Regions from separate parts of the Homo sapiens genome. Here regions 1 and 3 are each linked to region 2. The links are contacts of gene promoters, found by promoter capture Hi-C in blood cells and fetal thymus (Javierre and others, 2016). All regions are on one chromosome and are shown on one strand. Each heading gives the region's core, a stretch centred on a gene start or on the middle of the fragment in contact. The rest is flanking DNA. Distances are from core to core; before and after follow the strand shown.

Region 1 (3,419 bases), core at 308-2,807, 2.3 Mb before region 2:
GATTGTGTCTTTTCAGAACTCTAAGCCAACAGGAAGAAATCTAAATAAAGCGGAAGGCTGCCCTTCTCCAGTTTTGTTCCTTAATCTAAGGAGGCCCCTGTAGCGCAGTTTCTATAGTTGGCGACAGTCTCCCTGCAGATTTATATATAGTAACATTGGTTAAAAAAAATCACTTGACAAAGTTTTCTATTTCCGTAACATTGTGTCAGGAGGGAAGCTTAACGGAAAGTCTTCCCAGGGATGAAAGTATTTGTTTCTATTTTATATGTTAGTTTTAACTCCTTAAATTCATCTCCTATGAGAATAAACATTCTTGATCTGACTCAATGTGCTCTCTGAATTCACTGAAATAAAATATAGCCTGTAACTCTGACCAATAACCTGGGGTGCCTCCCAGAACTGCTGGCTCCAGGTGATCTACAGATTTCCCAAGAGAAGCGCTGCAGCTCCTACCCACCAGCAATCTAAAATCTGCAGCAATTCCGCAGGACCACACCTAGGCCCAACAGCACATACCTGCAGAGCCGGAAGCGCCTTCCCCTCCAGGGCATCTCCTGTCCCCAGGGAAGGAATTAAAGTTCTAACCCCTGCCTCTCCTTCTACCCATCCTAGTATCTGCTTTTCCTTTACCTCGTCTTCCACACTTACTTGCCCCCGACGCTATTATGTAGCTTGTAAACTCGTGACTCTCAAGGAAAGTATCAGCAGAAGCCACAACTTCGGGGAATGACTCACTAAGGAGTCTCCAGCGCCTTCCACCGCCCTGCAACTGCCCCACTACTGTAGCCCTACGGCTCCGTGCTGCCACCCCACATAAAGAAGGGGCATTTTCTGAAATCCAAGGAAGAACCTGAAGAGTCCCCCACCCGCCTAGAGGCGTCTCTTGCTCTAAGTCAGCGGTAGGAAATGACCACCTTCCCAGTACAAATGGACAAACGATTCTAAGAGGCAGGAGGAAAACAAACACAATTCCTTCAGAGGCTCTCCCGACCGTCCCTAGCAACACATCCCCACCGCAGCGGGTGCATTGCTCACAGGCCACTTCTGAAACCAGTGTTACTGATCAGGCCTGCACAACCACTCCCCCGGCAGTGTCCGGCTCGCCATCCTCTGCGCCGGAACAGCAGAGGGCAAGGTCGGGTGGTCTCCGGAAGGCAGAAAGGTGCCCCCAGACTGCAGAGCCCGGGGACAGCAGGAGAGGAAAGGAAGGAATGGAGGAAGGGTTGACCTTGAGAATTTTCCTGAGTTACACATAAATAGGTCGGGCCTCGCTTAGACGCTCCCAACCCACTCCACCAGGGAAAAGATGCAAGGCAAGGGGAGAGCAGAGAGGGTGGAAATTCAGATCGCTAATTTACTGATAAGGGTGGGGGGAGGTTAGAGACAGCGGGTCTCTATTCAGCTCGCATAGGCTGAAATATGGGAGTGCCCTGCGCAAAGGCTGAAGTGCCCCCGGCGGCCCGGTGCTCGTGGCTGCCCGCAGGTGCTAGCACTCACCTGGATCACCTTCGAACAGCTGGAGCAGAACAAAACTGCGCAGCGCGGTGTGGGTGCGGCGCCCTCGCCTGGGGCGGGGCTAGATGAGGCCAGAAGCAGGCCCCGCCCCAGCCGACCAGCGCGCGGCCACGCCCCCAAGGCGGGGCTCCTGGCGCTGGCGCGCGCTGTCTAAGTTGCCAACTCAGGGCCACTGGTTGGGAGGTGGAGGCCTAATTTTCTTCCTGCTCATGGTCGTCCAGCGATTTACTCCTCTCATTCTCAAAAACATATATCTACTCCCCCAGGTGCCTTCGTGGCCATCTTCCTAAACTGTCCCAGCCAGGTCATACCTCCCGGATTGGGTTTGCAGAACAGTGGGACGTGAATAATTTGTCCCCAGCAGAGCCACCGTAGCGGTTTTAGGCGCTCTGCTGTAAGGGCGAAGCACGGGCATGCAAGGCGCGTGCGCGAAAGTAGCCGCGCCTCAATCGATGTGTCCCTGAGGCGCGTAGCTGGGGCGTGGGCGGCGCTTGGTGTCCCAGGTTGCTACACTCCCGAAGTGAATGGATTTATCGCTGTTAGGGCCTTTTTGTTTAGGGCCTAACAAATATTGTTAGTTTTGCCGAGAGCTGGCGCCGAGCCCTGCCCTCGTGGTGGGCCGTACCCACGCCCCCTGAGCGCGGAGTCGCGTGGCTCCGGAGTTTTGTTTTTTTGAAAGGAGTCTCCCAATTGTCCGTGGAGTTTTTTTTGCGGCACATGGAGTCTCTGCCTTCGCGACCCAGACCTTTGATGTGAACACCTGCTCCCGTTACGCTCGGGTCCAGCGTCCGGGGCGGGGCTCGAGGCCGGGTGGAGGAGGGGTGGGGGCGGGGGTCTTGGTCTTGGGTGAGACCTGCAGATACGGTCGGGCTGAAGGAGTAGAACTGGCTTCTAAATGCCGGAAAATCCGAAGGAACTGACTGCAGAAGGCACGTTTCCAATTTTCGCGTGTTTTAAGTGCACCCTCCCGCCACCTCTCCTCTGGACATCCCTCATCCTTTTGAAGATTGCCACACCTGGGCCCCTCCTAGAGTCTCCTCTTTGGAGGATTCCTCACCTCCGAGAGAATGCTTAGGAACCCACCTGAATGATTCCAAGTTAAGGTGTGGAAAGGCAGAAATCTAGATTTTTGAAGGCTCTAGGTTATGTGTGTGTTTCTTTTTATTGGGTTGTCATATTTGCACATCTAGAGGTACTTTGAGAGCTCATTAAATCTTTACTGTTGCTGTTTCAGCAATTTCCAACCATTCTCATACTTTCTGTCATGTTGGGTTTCTGTCATGTTGGATGTAGAGAGGGCTTTGTTTTGCTTGAACATTGAAAGGAAGTAAGTTAGGGAGACAGTTTTGCATTATTGAGGCAAGTTTCTCCACTTGCTGGCTGTTCTACGTAAGAAGTCATTCCAAGGTGGTGGAAGGGATGATTCAAAAATCAGGAGCGGGGATGCACCTTGCACCCTCATTTTACACCGGAGACTGCAGTCTCAAAAAAAATTTGGCCTCTTCTTTGCCAGTTATCTCTGACCACAGACAAGTACTTAACCACTGAGGACCTTCTTTTAAAAATCTTATTACAAAAGCAGTATTCCTTTATATTAGAATTTTCGGAGATACAGAAAAGCCCACAAAAAAATTACATACACACACAATAGAATCATACTGTATATTCTGTTTTGTGGTCTGCTCTGTTCACTTCATAAAATGTAAACCCTTTTTTTGCTTTTCATTTCTTTTTCTTTTCTTTTGATACATAAACCAGAGTGTCACTTTATTGATTTGCAACTGGGAACCTAAGTATGTTGTGGACTAGAAAACTCCTGTCATGCACTCAGTGTATTTTTTTCATGTAGGACGCTTTTCATTTCTTGAACGGTTCATGCTGCAACATTATTTGGCAATCAGTGC
Region 2 (3,852 bases), core at 1,319-3,818:
AAAAGCCAGTATGCATTGTAAGCAGAACTGCAGCAAAACAAAACAAACAAACAAACAAAAAAAACCCCATAATTTTGCCTCATCTTAAACTCACCATGTAAAAATGTTCCAGTCGAATTCCATATACTATTTGTAAGGCTCTCATGTAGATCATGTGCAAGACTTCAGGCTACAGCAAAAAACAACTTTGAATACTCCGATGCATAACTCTAAAGCTATGTCACTATCATCATTACCATACAATATTATAATCGATGAAAGCAAAGAAGAAAAAGGCAACAAAATTATTCCATTTCCCTTGAAATATTCCTTAATTTTTCCAAATTTTAAAACACCTTATGATGCTTAGTTTGCTCATATATAAGTGGTCAATGGGATCAGCTGTTTAAGAATGAGAGCAAGTATACCCAAATCCAATCCAAGCAACCCATCCACCTTAGGAAATAGAAGAAGAAGAGTTAATCTTTCAGAACAGGCTGTCAGGCATGTGGCAGAAATAATGGCACATGGAAAATGTGTGTGTGTGTGTGTGTGTGTGTGTGTGTGTGTGTGTGTGTGAACACAGGAAACCTTGTTTGCTGCCATAGATATTAAGGTTTCCTTAGATTTGAAGTTTAAGGGAACACTTGATCAGGAGGTATAAATGTAATAGGGTTATATAGAATTTTAAAAACCGGATCTTCTAAAACAGCAGTTCCTAAATGCTGACCTGTGAATCTGTTCTGATCCATATATTAATACAAGTTTATTGGGTGAGCATTAAGACGGGAAATATAGGGAAAACGTGGTAATCTTTTAAGAAAGCTGAATTTACTCAGTTTGAAGACATCAGTTATTCTAAGGTATTTCTTCCATTTTCGAGAATCAAAGAGGGTAGTGACATCAGAAAGTTTGAGTTCTACACCATTACACCAGGTTTTACTACGTTATCACTTCAAGTCCAACACAAGAAACTGGAAGGAGACTTTGGGATTTTCTGTGACACATAAATAGTTCATTTTGTATTTAATAACTAAAGATATAAAAAACAATACCTGTCAAAACAAGTCAATTCCCCCTGGGGCATAATGCATGAAAATTAATCTGTAGGCTTCCAAAGAGGATTATTTCTAAGCATTTTTTGTGGTTGAAAACCACTTGGAATAAGTTCCTTGAAGCCCTATCAATAAATGATACTCTCAGACCACCATTCCAATAATAATAATAAAAAATTTAATATACTTTAATATGGTTTAGAAGCTTTTTTTTTTTTAAGAAAACGACTATATTAAAGAATTGAATCCTAATGGGAATGTAGAAGTCACCACACATATAAACTTAGTGTTATTTTTAAATTATGCTAGGTGAGAGATTCTCTCTCAATGAAAATGACTGGTCTCCATCAAATAGGAGGCCATATCCCTTTCTTGCCACACAATAGACCTAGTAGCTTACTTTTTCCCTAAATACCATTATCCACATGCAAACGTAACCACCTTTTACCTTTGGATTTGGATAAAGATCATTCTTGGTGAGGTTTTTACCATCAGCTCCTGTTAAGATCTTATTGCGAATATGAATCACAATCTCAGCTACATTATATCTGGGGAAAGACAAAGTTTCCATCTTGGAAGTTTCCTGTTAATCTGAAGGAAGAAAAAACAATGAGAAATACCACATGATCAGTAGTTCTCATTATCTGGAAACTAATAAACATAATGACAAAATGAGCCAAAGTTGAACTATTCATAGTAGTGTTAACTATCATCAAATATCTTAGTAAGATAAATACAAGTATTTATATATGTATCCTAAAATTACTTTTATTCTAAGGTGACACAGTTATTTTCTGCTAATTTTCTAGTGTCGTTCTCTTTTGTAGGAAGAGAACAACACATTTGGGAAGGAGGACTTTGGTTGAATAGATAGATGAGAAACCACGTGCTTCTCTTTTACATTTGAGGGCCACGGAGCTTAACAAGACCAATCCTAATAATTAATTCTCAAAGCAAGGCATATAGGCAACATCATCAGCAGAAGCTATATATAAACAACAGTAATATAGGGCATAAAAAATTGTATTCAGTTTTGACATCCTATTCATTACATATATAGTGAGATGGCTAATAAGGTTGTAGATGCAAATAGAAGAGAGAAAAAAAACTGAGTAAGAATAGATGATATAATTGATAGGAAATCCTATCACCAGAGTGAGAATTTTAAGAAAACAAAAAACCATTTCTCCTAATGTCTTCACGTAGTGAGTTATTCCTACCTGTGTCCCCCTAGCGTAGTAGTTCTCTAACTTTATCACCAAGGGCACATCTGGCAATGGCTGAAGACATTTTTGATTGTCAGCACAGGAGTGTGGGTGCAACTAGAATCTAGTGGATAAAGACCAGGGATGCTGCCAAACATCTTACGATGTATAGGGTGGCCCCCAACAGCAAAGAATTATCCAGTTCAAAAGGTCAATAAATGCTGATGTTAAAAAACCCTGTACCTGTAATCTCAGCACTTTGGGAGGCCAAAGCATGTGGATCGCTTGAGCCCAGGAGTTTAAGACCAGCCTGGGCAACATGATGAAACCCTATCTCTACAAAACACATAAAAATTAGCCAGGCATGGTGGCCTATGCCTGTAGTCCCAGCCACTTGGGAGGCTGAGGTGGGAGGATCACTTGAGCCTGGGAAGCAGAAGTTGCAATGAACTGAGATCGCACCACTGCACTCCAGCCTGGGTGACAGAGACCCTGTGTCAAAAAAAAAAAAAAAAAAGAAAGAAAAGAAAAGAAACCTTGTCCTAGAGCCTTGCATTTACCCCTGTTATAATACTTGTTACAATGTACTGGAATTATGTTTAAAGAACTCTGACACCACATTGTGAGATTCCGGTAAGTAAGGATCTTTTCATTTTCTTCATATCTCTCCCTGTAACCACAAAAATAGCAGTAGTAACAGCAAGAGAGAAATGAGCAGCAATAGCAGCCACTGTTATTGCTCTCAGCCACTCCCTTAAATACCTGTTGTGTTACCTTCAGATCCCCTACTCTCCAGTGAAGCAAAATGATCTCGGAGACCCAATGTGAATATATTCAATTTTGCAAACAAATTGAAATGGGCCACAATTCTGACAATCTATTTCTTTAGGCTCCTAATTTTTTTAGAATTTTAGGGTTAAAAAGGGGAGCTTTGGCAACTTGCCTAACCTCTAATAAATGGAAGCAATTCTAAACAACCACTAACAAATAACTTCCCAATTCAACTTGAACATGTGACAACATCACAGAATTCACTCTCAATGCAACTTTTTCCCACTTTATTATGGTTCCAAATTAAATAACTCTTCCTCATAGTGTGTGGAAATATGTTTTGTGGTAATTTTACCTCCTGGTCCTATGTAGTCACTGCAACTAAATAGAATATATTAATCTCTGTTTACATGACACCATTTTCAAAAACATGAAGAAAGCTATTACACCTCTGCTAAGCCCTCCCTTCTTTAAAGTAAGTATAATTTCTTTATGTATGGCTATATGTAACTTCAAAATACTCCTTATATGACATTGTTTTAGAAACTACCATCTTATTCATCTTCCTCTAACACACACTATTTTGTAAATGTCTTCTTAAAATGTAGTGCCCAAACTGAACACGACACTCCAGATATGGTTGGTCTAGGGCACAGTATAATGGCCTCTGCTGTAGCACTTACTGATCAACTGAAACTCCAAGAACTTCATCATGACCGTCTTGCATCAAGGCGGCTTCTCCCTGTTCTTTTTTTCCCCCTTTCCCTCTCTTTTTTTTTGGTCACCATCTGCTGTGTCACTTGTGTTCTTGTTGTATAAATTGATTATTTGAAACTTAAGCA
Region 3 (3,699 bases), core at 751-3,250, 2.4 Mb before region 2:
GAAATGCTTTATAATATACTTTTCCTCATCCAGTCTTCATAGCTGATGTTACCACCATTTTGAAGGCTCAAAGATGCTAAACAATAGGTTCTAGGACTGCTGTCAAGTAAGTGGCAGAGCAAGAATTTAAAATCAGGTCTGATTTCCAAGATCATGCTCTTATTGTTATCTCAGCACTTACCTTGGGTGATACAAAGGTGAATAAAAACCTATCCTTGTCTGAACTGCTCAAATAAAGGTCTAGCTCAAATATGATCTTTCTGAAACCTTTCCAACTCCCCAGGAAGAATACATCTTGTTTTCATCTGTACCCCCTCAACATTTTAAGAATACCTCTATAATACCTATAATCTTATTATATTATATAATCTCCCTGGGCCCTTAGAAGTCAGGAATATTCTCTTAACCATCCTTTTGACCCTACAGTGCCTACCACAGTTCTTGACATATAGTAGAAGCTCAATAATGTTTCTTAAAAAGGAGACAGGGTCTCTGTTGCTAAGTCTGGGAGACAAGAAATGCACATAAAGCTAAAAAAAAGTCAAAAGTAGTGTTTAGGAGAATTATATATTTAAGTGCAGTACAGTTTAAAAGAACCAATGAGGGCCGGCCACGGTGGCTCACGCCTGTATTCCCAGCACTTTGGGAGGCCGAAGTGGGTGGATCTGAGGTCAGGAGTTCAAGACCAGCCTGGCCAACATGGCAAAACCCCGTCTCTACTAAAAATACAAAAAATTAGCTGGGCGTGGGGACGGGCACCTGTAGTCCCAGCTACTTGGGAGGCTGAGGCAGGAGAATGGCTTGAACCCGGAGGCAGAGGTTGCAGTGAGCCGAGATTGTGCCATTGCACTCCACCTGGGCAACAAGAGTGAAACTCCATCTCAAACAAACAAAAAAACACCAATGATAGGAGGAAGTACAAGAGGATACAGCTCAGCCAGCTTCCAGGTTTTCACCCATACACACACACACCCCAGTGTGAAAAAGCTGAAACCGTCTACAATGGCTGAAACCACGCTGCTGAGACATTTTTGAATTTTAATTAGTTAGCAACACTTATAAATTAAGTTTCACATAAAACCCAGGATTTCTGGATTTTCCTGAGAAACGAAGACATCTCAGAAACTGGGTGCTCATTCTCCTAGAGAAATGGGTTGGATTTGGGTATCAAATTCTCCTTTCAGATGAACTTAATGCTCACTTATCCATCGTAGTAACTTCCACCATTTGTTTAGGCTCAGCTTGCATAAGATAATTTATTTTCTCTCGCCAGTCTAGGCATCTGGGTTTAAGACCCCTTCTCTAGATACATTACTCACTGCACTATCACACTATGAATTTTCAGGCATCCGTGCTTTGACTTCCACTTTGCCTAGAAAGTCCTTTGCTATCTCCAAAAGTACTCCTACTCCCCTAAGGCACTGCTTCAATTCCTTTCATTAGCTTCTTCTGACCACTCTCTCAACCGTGTCACGCAGCACTGTGGTAATACCTCTATTAAAACCCTTATCAGAGCGTATGCACAAGCTTCTCCTCTTCGCGCTGACGTTCGCTCCTTGAGGCCAGCGGCCCACAACTAACTCATTTCGCGGTTCCAGCTTCACGTCCATGCCCTGGCACCTACACCCAGTCGTTCAGTACCTTTGCGGAAGTCAGTCTTCTTACTTCACGGCAAACCCAAGCTAAACTAATATTACGACCACAGAAGTTGGGCTGAGGTAGAAGTCAAGACTATCCCAATAACTGGATTCTGGCCGAGAAAAAGGCGCGCGCCAGCACCCCAGTCAGTAAAATCTACCGGGCAAAGTTCGCCGCCGCCACTATCCTCCTCTGGCTCTGAAATAGTTCCAATTCTCGCGAGATTCGGCCTGACTACCAGCCCTTCAGCTCCAGTGAGTTGCGGGTTGGTTTCCTCTAGACTCTCGTGGCCACACCGTTCTCCGATACGAGCCTTTCCGGTGCTATGCCCCGGAAGCGGAAGTGCGATCTTCGGGCTGTCAGAGTTGGTCTGTTACTCGGTGGTGGCGGAGTCTACGGAAGCCGTTTTCGCTTCACTTTTCCTGGCTGTAGAGCGCTTTCCCCCTGGCGGGTGAGAGTGCAGAGACGAAGGTGCGAGATGAGCACTATGTTCGCGGACACTCTCCTCATCGTTTTTATCTCTGTGTGCACGGCTCTGCTCGCAGAGGGTGAGAGCGGGTATTTCTCAGACGTTTGATCAGTCCCCGGGAGGAAGGGCCCCGGGGTCCCCTGTGCCACCAGGGGAAAGATCGCGAGCCTTACTTGCTTGAGAGGCTCATCTACTCCACTTCAGGGAATCTCTGGGCAACTCGTGAACAGGAGCAGGAGGGGAGTATGGAGTCGATTGCCGAGTTTTCTTTGGTCTCAGGTAGATTTCACTTGGGTATTTGTGGAGACACCTTCACATCATGTTACTGTTGTTTTGGCTGAAGAGTCAGTTGTATTAGCCTTTGAAAAAAGTTAACTATGGGTAAATACAAAGCGAAAAGTTGGAATTCCTCCTTCTCCAACAGTAACCACTTTGTTTGTTGTGATCATTCCAGTCATTTCTCTATTAACATGTTGCTTTTAATGTTTTAGGCATAACCTGGGTCCTGGTTTACAGGACAGACAAGTACAAGAGACTGAAGGCAGAAGTGGAAAAACAGAGTAAAAAATGTGAGTATGGCAACACATTAGAAATAATTTCAACACGTCAAGCTCATTAAGTCCATGTTCACAATAAATATTTTAAGAGCACCAGCTGATACAAAGATGAACCTGACTTGAAGCCTATTTAGAAATAGAAGACTTTTATGCAAAATGTGTAATACCAACTAGAGGGAAGTGAGGGGCGTAGCAGATACATGTTATGTGCTGTGGTGGTTCTAAAGAAGAGGTTCAATCTGGCGCAGTGGCTTACTCCTGTTAATCCCAGCACTTTGGAAGGCTGAGGCAGGACTGAACTTAGGGGTTTGACACCAGCCTGGGCAACATAGGGAGACCTCGTCCCTACAGAAAAAATTAGCTGGGTATGGTGGTACACACCTATAGTCCCAGCTATTTGGGAGACTGAGGCATGAGGATCCCTTGAGCCCAGGAGATTGAGGCTACAGTGGGCCACGATGGTGTCACTACACTGCCTCCTGGGCAATAGTGAGACTTGTCTTTAAAAAAAAAAGAAGAAGAGGCTTCATTCAGTTGTGAGGAACCATGGTAGCCTTCATGATGCTGATGGCCTTGCAGTTCCTTGTGGATAGTTAGAATTTGGATAGAGAATGAAATGGGGAAAGGAAATTCCAGGTAAAGAAATAACATATGAGCAAAAATATGGAAATCTTAACATTTAAGGCATGTTTGGAGGATGATATGTCATTATGACTGGTGTCAAGGTAAGTGGTGTCTTCAGAGATAAGCCGAGTTTCAGTTGGGTTAGAAAGTTGAAGAGGTGTTTAAGGAAAAGATTAAAAACAAGAAGGGTTTGTTACCTTTGAAATAAAGCAGGAATTCCACAGGACTCAGCTAAAGGTACAGGGTGAATGGTTCCTTATAGGCCTGATTTAGTTTTCTCTCTTCTTTTTTTCCTTATAAGGATTAAATATAACTTTTGTTTCTTAGAATTCCTACAACTTTCTGTATTCTGTGACTTTTTCTTATATCTTCATAGGGGTTTGAAGTTTTTTTTCTTAAATTACCATATTT

What was found. Contacts are between HindIII fragments. The CHiCAGO score rates a contact against its expected background, and 5 or more counts as called.
Region 1: a contact is called between the fragment with the promoter of MGST3 here and a fragment that was not itself captured in region 2, in 1 of 17 cell types (non-activated CD4 T cells). The highest score is 6.8, in non-activated CD4 T cells.
Region 3: the fragment with the promoter of TMCO1 here is called in contact with a fragment that was not itself captured in region 2 in 1 of 17 cell types (fetal thymus); the score reaches 5.1 in fetal thymus.

The regions. Positions count from the first base shown.
Region 1 is chr1:165,629,372-165,632,790 of GRCh38, reverse strand. It overlaps MGST3 (microsomal glutathione S-transferase 3), which reads right to left and starts at 1,557. Exons shown (of 6, transcript NM_004528.4): 1 at 1,498-1,557. RefSeq lists enhancers at 883-1,052, 2,106-2,636 and a silencer at 1,483-1,722. The HindIII fragment of the contact is 6,286 bases long and covers 220-3,419 here.
Region 2 is chr1:163,323,805-163,327,656 of GRCh38, reverse strand. NUF2 (NUF2 component of NDC80 kinetochore complex) reads right to left here. Exons shown (of 14, transcript NM_145697.3): 2 at 1,483-1,625; 3 at 95-169. The coding sequence starts at 1,605. Among named protein-coding and RNA genes, the nearest start is that of NUF2, 3.8 kb to the right of the region's middle. The HindIII fragment of the contact is 2,653 bases long and covers 1,242-3,852 here.
Region 3 is chr1:165,767,169-165,770,867 of GRCh38, reverse strand. It overlaps TMCO1 (transmembrane and coiled-coil domains 1), which reads left to right and starts at 2,000. Exons shown (of 7, transcript NM_019026.6): 1 at 2,000-2,186; 2 at 2,599-2,676. The coding sequence starts at 2,117. TMCO1-AS1 (TMCO1 antisense RNA 1) reads right to left here and starts at 1,939. Exons shown (of 3, transcript NR_125374.1): 1 at 1,493-1,939. RefSeq lists enhancers at 1,037-1,712, 1,713-2,389. The HindIII fragment of the contact is 3,297 bases long and covers 1,530-3,699 here.